2 separate regions of the Homo sapiens genome follow, and region 1 is linked to region 2. Evidence: promoter capture Hi-C in human tissues and cell types (Jung and others, 2019). All regions are on one chromosome and are shown on one strand. Each heading gives the region's core, a stretch centred on a gene start or on the middle of the fragment in contact. The rest is flanking DNA. Distances are from core to core; before and after follow the strand shown.

Region 1 (6,015 bases), core at 493-2,992, 1.0 Mb after region 2:
TAAGCGAGAAGCAGGAGAGGCAGACTCAGAGCATGAGGTAATAGAAGCGGATGTTGGAGTGATGAGATTGCTGGTTTCAAAAACAGAGGAAGAGGCCTGGAGCCAAGGAACCCAGGCAGCCTCTAGAAGCTGCAAATGGGAAAGACAGATTCTCCCTGAGCCTCCAGAAGGAGTGTGGCCCTCCTGACTTCTTGATCTTTGCCCAGTGTATTAGTCCATTCTGACACTGCTAATAAAGACATACCTGAGACTGGGTAATTTATAAAGGAAAGAGGTTTAATTGACTCATACTTCCACATGGCTGGGGAGGCCTCACAATCATGTCAGAAGGCAAAGGAGGAACAAAGGCACGTCTTACATGGTGGCAGGCAAGAGAGCTTGTGCAGGGGAATTCCCATTTATAAAACCATCAGCTCTTGTGAGACTTATTCACTATCACAAGAATAGCCTGGGAAAGACCTGCCCCCATGATTCAATTACCTCCCACTTGTTCCCTCCCATGACACGTGGGAATTATGGGAGCTACAATTCAAGATGAGATTTGGGTGGGGACACAGCCAAACCATATCACCCTGTGAGTTTCAGACTTTTGACCTCCAGAACTACAAGATCATAAATTTGTGTTGTTTTAAGCCATGAAGTTTGTGGTCATTTGTTACGGCAGCAGTAGGAAACTGATAGACAGCAGTCCATCTATATCTGTGGGTTGTGGGTTCTGGGTTCTGCATCTGTGGATTCAACCAACCAGGAATCAAAAATACTTGGAAGAAACCGAATGGATGGTTGTGTCTGTGTTGAACATGTACAGAATTTATTTGTTATTATTCCCTAAATGATACAGTATGACAACTACGTATGTAGCATTTGGATTGTACTGGGTATGCTAAGCAATCTAGAGATAATTTAAAGCATAGGGGAGGATGTGTGTAGGTTATATGCAAATACTACATCATTTTCTGTAAGGGACTCGAGCATCCATGGAGTTTGGTGTCCTGGAACCAATCCCTCATGGATACCAAGGGACAATTGTACTTGTCTAACTGGATGATTGCCTAGTGTTTTTATGAGAAAACTAAAGAGGATGGACTCTTTCCATACCCCTTAGAAATACAAAATATCTTGGGAAGGCACAATAAAGCATGAGTAACATAGAAATTATGGAATATAGATTTTCCCCAAATAAGTGGAATTCTTACCTACCAATGTCCTACATTTTGCAGCCTGACAGTATGGAGGGAGAGCCCTGTCCTGCCCATGCACAGCCTGAAGGCACACCCCATGTGGATAGAACACCACGTTGCACATCCTCCCTGCAGAGCGCCTCAGGCCCACACTGCTCCCTACCCATGCTCAGTCCCACTTTGCCCAGCCGCAGTGTTGGACTCATTTTCCTCTGCTGGGTGAGTCTCGATGAGCCCTGCCTCCACTTGGGCAATTGTTTATAGAAGGTCAGCAGATCTCCTCTTCACGAAAAATGGGTCCACAGACTTTCTACTAGTGCAGGTGACCGAGGCCCCCCAGCCAAGGACGGGTTTTTCAAGCATTGGTGACAGACCTGTGTGACCCCAAGCTTTATGGGCCAGTGCTGCATCTTTCCAGTCTCAGTAGGTTTCCAGGAGCCCCGATGACTAAGACTTCAAATGTTCCTGAGGGACAGGATATCGTGATTGAGAAACCAACCATGTCTTACCTCCTGCCGTGAAGTCATTGATGAAAGAAATGAAGGTATTTTCCTTTCTGCACTCTAAGAAGGCAGCCCAGTCTTTGGGTCCTAGAGGGCTGGGTTTTCTCATCTTATCAACACTTCGATCTGTTAAAAAAAAAAAAAGTCTAGGCCCAAGAGCTCAGTTGTCCAGGGAGTAAAGGAGCTGTGTTAGTTTCCTGGTGCCATTATAACTAATCATCACAAACATGGTGCTTGACACAACACAACTCTATCATCTTCCAGTTCTGGAGGCTGGAAGTTTGAAGTGGCAGGGCTGGTTCCTGCTGGAAGCTCTAGGGTAAAATCCATTTCCTCACCTTTTCTAACTTCCAGAAGGCTCCAACCTTCTTTTGCCTGTGGCTCCTTCCTCCATCCTCAAAGTGCATCCTCCATTCTCTGCTTCCTTCATCACACGGCCTTCTCCTCTTCCGAAGTCAAATCTCTCTCTGCCTCCCTCTTCTGAGGATACGTGTGATTATATTTAGGATGCACCTGGATAATCCAGTATAATCTCCCCATTTTAAGAGTATTAATTTAATTGCATCTGCAAAGTCCCTTTTGCCATAGAAGTTACACTCCCAGGTTTCAGGGCCAAGGACATGGGCATTTCAGGAGACCATGACTGAGCAGGGGCCTGGGGCTTTAGGAAGTGAGCAGTGGTGTGGCCTCAAAGAGAGCAGTTAGACTTCCCAAGCCCAAGTGGGGTGGATTTCTCCTTCCATCCCCTTCCATTGCAGCACCCTGTCAATAACAGGATTCTCATGGGACACCCAGAGACCAAGCCCTAAGCTATGAGGCTAATGGTCTTTGCATCCAAGCTTTGCTCAGAAAGGACGTGGCAGTCCACCTTCGAAGGGACCACATGACCTGAGACAATGCATGAGGATTCATACATCATCCAGGATGGACTGAATGCCAAAAAGACCTTTCCCCAAAATTTCTGGACAGACTCTTACAGTACTTGAGGGAAGCAGAGTGGCACCCCAAAACCCGACGAAGTGAATTCACACTACCTTTGTCAAGCAGAGTCTCAGAACTATGTTTGATTTGCTTTAGAAAAAGTATAGTAATAGAACATATTTCCTGAATGCTGTCAGGTAAATTCATACATGTCTGGAGATGGGGCATGATTGGCTTCTTAAGCAAATATAGTCACATGCCACAAAACAACGTGCGGGTCAACAATAGACTGTAGATACAACCATGGCCCATGAGGTTATAATGAAGCTGGAAAAGTCCTATCACCTAGTGACGTCATAGTTGTCATAATGTCGTCTCGGTGCAAGGCATTCCTCTCGTGTTTGTGGTGATGCGGCTCTGCCAGTGGTTTAAAAAGTAAAAATAAAAGAAAAAAAAGAAATTTTAAGGCTGGGCGCTGTGACTCATGCTTGTAATCCCAGCACTTTGGGAGGCCGAGGCGGGCAGATCACCTGAGGTTGGGAGTTTGAGACCAGCCTGACCAACATGGAGAAACCCCTTCCCTACTAAAAATACAAAATTAGCCAGGCATGGTGGCGCATGCCTGTAATCCCAGCTACTCAGGAGGCTGAGGCAGGAGAATCATTTGAACCTAGGAGGCAGAGGTTGCAGTGAGCTGAGATCGCACCATTGCACTCCAGCCTGGACAACGAGAGCGAAACTCTGTCTCAAAAAAAGAAAAAAAAAAAAAAGAAAAGTTTAAAAGGAAAAAAGCTTATAGAACAATAACATGAAGAAAGTATTTTTTCACAGTTGTACAGTGTGTTTGTGTTTTAAGCTAGGTGTTATTACAAGAGTCAAAATGTTAAAAAATTTCAAAGCTTATTAAGTAAAAAAATTACAGTAAACAAAGATGAATTGATCATTGAAGAAAGGAAAATATTTTGGAAGAGTTGGTGCAGTGTAAGTAAGTGTAGCTTGTTTCTAAAGTCTACAGCAGCGTAGAGTGACGTCCCAGGCCTCCACATTCACTCCTCACTCACTGGCCCATCCAGAGCAACTTCCAGTCCTGCCAGCTCCAAGACAGATGGGTCATTTTCTGTCTTTCATACTGTATTTCGACTGTGTCTATTCTATTCTTAGATACAAAAATGCTTCCCATCATGTCACAGTGGCCTACAGTATTCAGCAGAGCAGCATGCTGTACACGTTTGTAGCCTAGGAGCAATGCGGTGTACCATCGAACCTAGGTGTCTGGTAGGCTGCACCACCTAGGATTGTGTGAGAACACTCTATGATGTTCTCACCACGATGAAATCGCCTAACGCGGCATCTCTCAGAACCAGCCCCGTGGTTAAGCCACACAGGACTGTGTCAGGGTGTCAGCATTCACATCACGTCCTGATATATCTCCTCCAAGAAGCCTGCTTTATAGAAAATGAATTTTCTTATCACAAGGCTTTAGGTTCCTTTCTTTTCTGGTTAATGGGGGGAAAATCCAGGCAGACAAGCCTCAGGTGATGTGGCCACTTTCATCTCAGTCAATATCAATTGGGTCCTATCAGAGCTCCCAGGCTCCTGGAATGGGAATTCTCTGTCCTTCCCCCAGTTTTAATTTCCTTCCTCAGAAAAAGGGACACAGTCTGCATTAGTGTGCAGGATGTGAGGACTGCACGGGTATCTGGCTTTCACACCTGGCCAGTTCTGAGCTCTACAGGCTGCATTCACCAGGCAAGGATGGGGAGAGAGCTGGAGGTGCAGTGGTGGTGTGGGCAAGGGTGGTGCCAGTGTCCTGCCAGGGAGGACCTTGGGATAGTGGGTGCTGATCACACTAGGGAGAAGGCCGGCATTGTTCATAGGTGAAAGTGGAAATTCTCTTATTTTATTTTATTATTTATCTATTTTTTTTTTTTTGGAGACAGAGTCTCACTCTGTCACCCAGGCTGGAGTGCAGTGGTGTGACCTTGGCTCACTGCAACCTCCGCCTCCTGGGTTCAAGCAATTCTCCTGCCTTAGCCTTCCAAGTAGCTGGGACTATAGGTGCACACCGCCATGCCTGGCTAATTTTTTGTATTTTAGTGGAGACAGGGTTTCACCATGTTGCCCAGGCTGGTCTCGAACTCCTGAGCTCAGGCAATCTGCCCGCCTCGGCCTCCCAAAGTGCTGGGATTATGGGCGTGAGCCACCGCGCCCGGCCAATTCTCTTATTTTAAAAACCTGAAGTGACTGTCACAGCTTCTGCTTGAAGGGCAGTGCATCATTCATTTCTCTGGGAAAATAAATTCCGACGGCTCAGGTCCAACTAGAGGGAGGGAAGAGAGGATAGAAGTGTCGCAGCCCCACCTGCTTGGTCACTGGGGTGGACGGCCAGTGAGCAGGGAGCACTCAGCACTCTGGTGCCTTTGGCCAAGAGCTGAGCAGGGGCTGGTGGGAGCTGCACGGCCGCTACTGGTGAAATCACAGAACTGAGTCACATGGAAGGGGCGAAGGAGCCCAGAAAACTGAATTGTGTGGCCTCAGGATGAAGTGGCTGGGGGATGGGAAAGGACATGGCCGTGACAAAATATAACAGGCTGTGGAGAAATCCACCCTGTGAGAAATCCCAGCACTGGAGGCCCAGATAATATTCATTTATGTTATTTGTATTTCTGCAGGGCCGTAATACTGTTGAATATTAGGCACTCGGGTGCCTAATAAATATCTGGTTTATCTCATCTATTCCTTACAATGGCCATTTTGAAAGGGGTTCTAGCCATATTCCACACCACCCCCCCAACCCACCCATGGGGATTCTGCCACCGCCATGGAAAACACCTGAGCTGTCCTGCTGGAGAGGCCCCATGGAAGTGCACTGAGGCTCCCTGGCCTAGAGCCGAGGAAGGGAAGCATGGAGGAGGTAAGCAACTTGTCCAAGATGGCAAAGCCTTTAAGCAATGGGGCCTGAGCCGAGGAACTGCCATCTTGAGGTCCAAACAACCACTGTCACGAGCCCGTGGTAAGGGCTGTTATGCACACATCTGCCTTTGGGGAGGTTTCAGGGGGGCTGAAGGGTAATGGAAGCCCACTGGGCTCCATGCCTGGGGTGGCACAGCAGAGAGATAAAAACAGTACTGAGAGGCAGCCAGGGAGGCAGGAAGAGGGCCTTAGAGATCTTAAAGGCCTGCATGATCTCTCAGCGCTGAGGATTAATGGAACTCCTGGATGGGTCCCCAGGACCTTGCTTGCAGCTTGAGCTGCAGTGTTTCCTTGAACCCCGAGTTGCTCGATGGAACACACACATCCACCTTTGCGCCCCTCCTGCCCATCACTCAGTCCAGTACATGGCAAGAGCCCAGTAGGGTACAGCTTCAGTGAATGAGGGAGGCAAGTCCAGATCAAGAGCCATGTCTCGG
Region 2 (5,848 bases), core at 515-3,014:
CAGGTGATCGCCCGCCTTGGCCTCCCAAAGTGCTGGGATTACAGGCGTGACTCACCACACCCGGCCTAATTTTTGTATTTTTAGTAGAGATGGAGTTTCACCATGTTGGCCAGGCTGGTCTCGAACTCCTGACCTCAAGTGATCCACCCACCTCGGCCTCCCAAAGTGCTGGGATTACAGGCGTGAGTCACCACGCCCGGCCCATCTTTGCTTAAATTATAAACTCAGTTTCTCCCACAGTTAGTTCAGCCTATGCTCAGGAATGTACAAGGACAGCTTGGAGGTTAAAAGTAAGATGGAGTTGGTTAAGTTAGATCTCTTTCACTGTCTCAGTCATCATTTTGCGAAGGCAAATTCACAAGTGGGAAGAAAGGACGGGTAGATGCAGGGCAGAGAGAGGGCTCTGTGCTTCGAGCCTGGATGATACAGATTTGGCAATACTATTCTAAGGAGAGACCAGAGAAAGAAGTTTAGGGTAGAAGGTAATTAATTAGAGTATGTTGAATTTGTCTTGCAGAAAAACCCTGTGAAGGAAACCTCTGGGAGGCTGTTGTAAATGCTGGGCTGGGGATGGGGTGGGTCTAGAGATCCAGATTTGAAGCAATTTCTAGTCTATTGATAGCTGAAGCTCAAGAAGAGAGTTAGATGAGCAGAGGTGAAGAGAGAAGAGGACATCAGACTCTTGAGTAAATTCAGCTTAAGCTCAGGGAGGAGTAAGAAAGGGAGACAGTGAAGGAAGCAGATAAGGAATATTGGGAAGCTGGACAAACAAGAACTGGGTAGTTGACAATACCAATGAAGAGGGAAGAGGAGAGGACTTTAATTCTTTCGGAGATGCCAGATGAGAAAAAATTAAGAAATGAGTGAGAAAAAAATGATGGAGTGATTAAACATCTATGTTGCTTTCCTTTGAGAATGTTAACTATGAAAAGAAGAAAAGGGTGGTGGTGGCTGCAAACCATAGGAAGGCTGAGAAAGGGTTTTACTTTGGTTCTGCCTCTAATCCCTGACGCATTCAACCTCCTCAAGCCATTTGCTTGTAAACATAACTGGCATAAATAATATCTGATATGCCCATTTTACAGGACAAGTGCTTCCCTCTCAGACCACATACTCGAGGACAGCGGCCGTCCACGCCTTATTTACATTCATCTTCCCAACACAACAGTCATTTGGAAGATGCCGAGTGGCGTGGGAAGAACAAGCGGGAACGAGCGCCGACCCGCCCGCGGCCTGACTGCTAGCGCACCGCTGTGCGGCCGCCTCACCGCGCACTCCCTCCTGAATTATTCACCACCGAGACGAGGACGGTGATCGCCCCCATTCCACAGAGGACACGGAGTGAAGGCGCAGTCACAGGCCCAAAGCCCCCAGTCGGCGGGTCTTGGAAATGGACGACTTTTTCACTCAAAAGCTACGAGGCAACAAAGCATGTGGATGAGGAGGGAAGGGAGCCGGGGCCAATAATTCATCTCAAAGTAAAAGACGTCCCCGGGGGTGGGGAACAAACAAACAACAAAACCCGGCTCTGTGCTTCCGCGCTTGCGCTCTCCTAGGTCTGCCAGGCTGCCGCCCGCGCCTAGGCCAGAGTCTCAGTGCGCCTGCGCCGAGCCCGACTTCCGCCAGGGCTCGATTGGCTTCCAGGCTACTTCTCCCGGCCCAGGGAGGGCCTGCGCTGTGGCTAGAGAAGGGAGTCTGGTGACTGGGTGCGCGTGCTGATGACGAAATCGGAAGTGCCCGGAGCAGAGGCGGGACCAGAACCTAGAGGGCCTCGGGATTGCGGAAGTTTGGTGGGGAGGGTCGGAGCTCTGGTGGAGAGAGTGTTGTCTAAAACAAGTTCCGGAAGGGAGGCTGCCCTTCGCGGTCCGAGAACCACCGGCCTCCCCAGTTTGAGGGCTGTTACCCCGTGCGCGCTTCGACGTTGCTGCTGTTGGCTCTCCTCGCCCCTCGTTCCCTTGGGAACCGCCTGGGAACTCCGCCATGTCATCCACTTCGCCCAACCTCCAGGTATCATTGCTCATCTCCCGTCCCCCTAGGGAGCTGGGATCGAGGGGAGGCGCGAGAAGCGGGTGGGGGGCGGGGAGAAGGGAGGAAGCGGCCGCGCCTGTGGTCGAGGCGCAGGAGGGCGGGTCCGGGGACCTGCAGCAGGTGGGAGAGGGGCCCGTTTTCCAACGGAAAGGTCGTTTCTGGCCCGCTCTTGGGGTCTCCCGAGCTACTGGCTTTGTGAGACTCTTCACTTTTGTTGACACTTCCCGCTTCCAAACCAGCCAAGATCTGGGCAGGTTTCTCCAATCAGGGTTAACGGAGAAAGAAAGAACGTAATTTTTGCAAAGCCCTATTCTGGACCAGTTGAAGATAGGGTGGTCATAGTTCGGTCTTAGTTTCTCAAGCTGACAGCAGACCCCTTCATTCTGAGCTGTCAGGTGAGTAGAGATATGGGAACAGACCAAGAATCTGAGATTACAGCCAGCCTGCATGCAATCTCCGTGAAGTCATTGAATTTATGTGCACACTCCTGTGGCTCCCAGATGGTAGTGTGTAAGATCGAGGAGTATTCTTAAACCTCTGTGTGGCTCCACTTCCCCTCCTCTACCGCAATGAGCACAGTGTTTTGTACACAAATCATGGAATCTTAAGATTTTAGGCTTAATCGTTAGTCCTCTGTGGAATGGAATTCGTTCAGAAAAGAAATTTCTTAATGTAATGGTGTCTCCCATCCCCAGAATGGATCTAGGGCTTCAGTGGCGTTTAGAATGTAATGTGGCTTAATGTAGAGGACTCCCAGTCCAGTAAGTCAATAAGGCACAAAAGAGTAGCCTAAAATACTTGTATTGAGTCCCCGTCGTGGACTTCCGGTAGTTTGTTGAACAAGCAGTTATTGGAGTGCCTGACAGAGGCATCAAAGGTAATGGAAGAACTCCTTAACCCATGATAATTGATTCTGAAGAAAGACCACTCAAAGTAGACCCACTTAAACAGAGATTAAAATTTCACACACACATACACAAAAAGAGTGGGAAAGGAGGCTTGCTTGGGACTTTCATCTTGAAAATCGACCTAGAAGATTATTAAAATAATTGTTATCTTTCACAAAATATTATAATTGTATAATTGCAACAATGACTCATTTTGTGGAATAAGTCAAGTGTTGATTTGTCTGTGTTTTTTTCCTTTTCTTTTCTTTCTTTTTTTTTTTTTTTTTGAGACGGAGTCTTGCACGGTCGCCCAGGCTTGAGTGCAGTGGCGTGATTTCAGCTCACTACAACCTCCACCTCCCAGGTTCAAGCGATTCTCTTGCCTCAGCCTCCTGAGTACCTGGGACTACAGGCACCCACCACCACGCCCAGCTAATTTTTGTATTTTTAGTAGTAGAGATGAGGTTTCACCATGTTGGCCCAGGCTGGCCTCTTGACCTCAGGTGATCCGCCTACCTCAGCCTCCCAAAGTGCTGGGATTACAGGCGTGAGTCACCGTGCCCGGATGACTATCTTTTTCACCAAGGTTGTATTAAACTAAGATTCAGCAATCTTCACTTGAGTTTTTTGTAGCTTTTTGTAGTCCTATTTGGAAAGGTTCTTTTTGGTAAACGTATTTGGAAAAAGCGTTGGTCATTTGGTAAAAGTATTTTTCCCTTGAGTATTAAAGGTGACTCTTCTGAAGTGCCCATCTTGTCATCGTTGGCTTTTTAACAATTTTTATTCCACCAGCTTTTCATTTGTCAGAGACTTTGCATGTGATTTCGATACTCTACAACATAATCTTCATCATTTGCAGGTTTTTGTTGTTGTTGTTTTGAGACAGTCTTGCTCTGTTGCCCAGACTGGAGTGCAGTGGCGTGATCTTGGCGCACTGCAACCTCCACCTCCCAGGTTCAAGTGATTCTTGTGCCTCAGCCTCCCGAGTAGCTGGGATTACAGGTGCCTGCCACCACGCCTGGCTAATTTTTTCTATTTTTAGTAGAGACAGGGTTTCACCATGTTGGCCACGCTGGTCTTGAACTCCTGACCTCAAGTGATCCGCCCGCCTTAGCCTCCCAAAGTGCTGGGTTACAGGTGTGAGCCACCGTGCCCGGCCCCAGAATGCATCATACTTGAATTGGACTGTTGGCTGTTCTTCAGTGAATCAGCCAGAGACTGACCAACATGAAAGGCATAATTGTTACTCTTAAGCAGGAAGGATCTTGAATTGTAATTTTGTTAGTGGTAGGTTCACATGTGTGCTTTCTCATTCAACCTTTTCAACCTTCTAACCTAGGAAATTTGGATTAATATTCATGTAGTGATTAACTTCCTGCTGAACAAGGCAAAAATCTCTGTGGCCAGATGCTTATAATCTAATGAGGGAATGCAGATAACTAAAAATCAAAATTATATAATGTAATAAAGCTGCACAGTATTCTCCACTTCCCTGTGGTTTTACTTTCCACAGTTTCAATAACCCGAAGTTAACCTGGGTCCAAAAATTTTAAATGAAATATTCTAGAATAAATAGTTCATAATTTTGAAACACTATGTCACAATGCCTGTGTCATTCACTTCAGTTCATATCATGACGTAGGCATTTTATTATTTCACATAATCACAAGAAGGTTGAGAACAGTGCAATAAGATGTTGAGAGAGAGAAACCACATTCACATCACTTTTATTACAGTATATTGTAATAAAATGTACTGGGCAAGGAGGCAAGGTCTGTGGGATGGGAGGCGGTAAGGGGCCAAATTAGTAGAGTATCCATTCAAATGAAGTGGAAAGGATTGATCAAAGGAGAAAAATTGAAGATGGAGAAGAGTCAAGCTTGTATCTGCATTTATTTTTTTTTTTTTGAGACAGAGTCTCACTCTATTGCCCAGGCAGGAGTGCAGTGGCATGATCTCGGCTTATGGTAACCTCCATCTCCCAGGTTCAAGCGATTCCCCTGCATCAGCCCCCCATGTAGCAGCTGGGATTACAGGCATGCACCAACACACCCAGCTAATTTTTGTAGAGACGGGGATTCGCTGTGTTGGCCAGGCCAGTCTCAAAGTCCTGAACTCAGGTGATCCACCCCCGTTGGCCTCCCAAAGTGGTAGAATTACAGGCGTGAGCCACTGCTCCCTGCTGTATCTGCATTTTAAAAGTGAGGGAGGAGGAAGAGTCTGAGTTTTCTCCCAGATTTCTGGGTTGGGTATCTGAGTACCCAACTCAGGTAGGGATTGGTTCTGGGAATACAAAAGGAGAGCTATTTGGGGCCAGGGCAAGGGAGCAAAATAATTTGGTTCTAAACTTGTCGAGTTTGAGATGCTTGTGGAGACAATCAAATGGAAATGTCCGGTGAATATTTGCATACATATGTGTAGAAGTAGGGAGAGTGGACTAGGCTGGAAATAAGGATTTATTAGCGTACAGGTGGTAGCAGAGGTTGTAGGCATACAGAGTCACATCCTGGAGAGTTTACAGAATAAGGCAAAACAAAGACCACGTTAGAAATTCTATGGATTAGCGACAGTTAAGGAGAGAGAAATGGGAGCCTGGAAAAGAATTATGAATCAAAAGTAAAACCAGGCCAGGCGCAGTGGCTCATGCCTGTAATCCCAGTGTTTTGGGAGGCCGAGGCAGCAGATCGCTTCAGCTTAGGACTTCGAGACCAGTCTGGGCAACATGGTGAAAACCCCTCTCTACAAAAATTAGCCAGGTGTGGTGGTGCATGCCTGTAGTCCCAGCTACTCCAGAGGCTGAGGTGGGAGAATGGCTTGAGCCCAGGAGGTGGAGGTAACACTGAGGCGTGATCACACCCGTGTACTCCAGCCTGGGTGACACAGTGAGACCCTGTCTAAAAAAAAAAAAATACTAAAACTAGAAGAAAATGGTG

Evidence for each region. The method cuts DNA at HindIII sites, captures the fragments that hold promoters and counts their contacts. A contact is called where the count stands out against the background at its distance.
Region 1: a fragment that was not itself captured here is called in contact with the fragment with the promoter of VPS4B in region 2 in 1 of the 25 tissues and cell types used here (dorsolateral prefrontal cortex).

Annotation. Positions count from the first base shown.
Region 1 is chr18:62,405,728-62,411,742 of GRCh38, reverse strand. No RefSeq gene overlaps it. Among named protein-coding and RNA genes, the nearest start is that of TNFRSF11A, 83 kb to the right of the region's middle. The HindIII fragment of the contact is 3,418 bases long and covers 34-3,451 here.
Region 2 is chr18:63,418,392-63,424,239 of GRCh38, reverse strand. It overlaps VPS4B (vacuolar protein sorting 4 homolog B), which reads left to right and starts at 1,764. Exons shown (of 11, transcript NM_004869.4): 1 at 1,764-2,007. The coding sequence starts at 1,981. RefSeq lists an enhancer at 1,597-1,896. The HindIII fragment of the contact is 11,812 bases long and covers 1-5,848 here.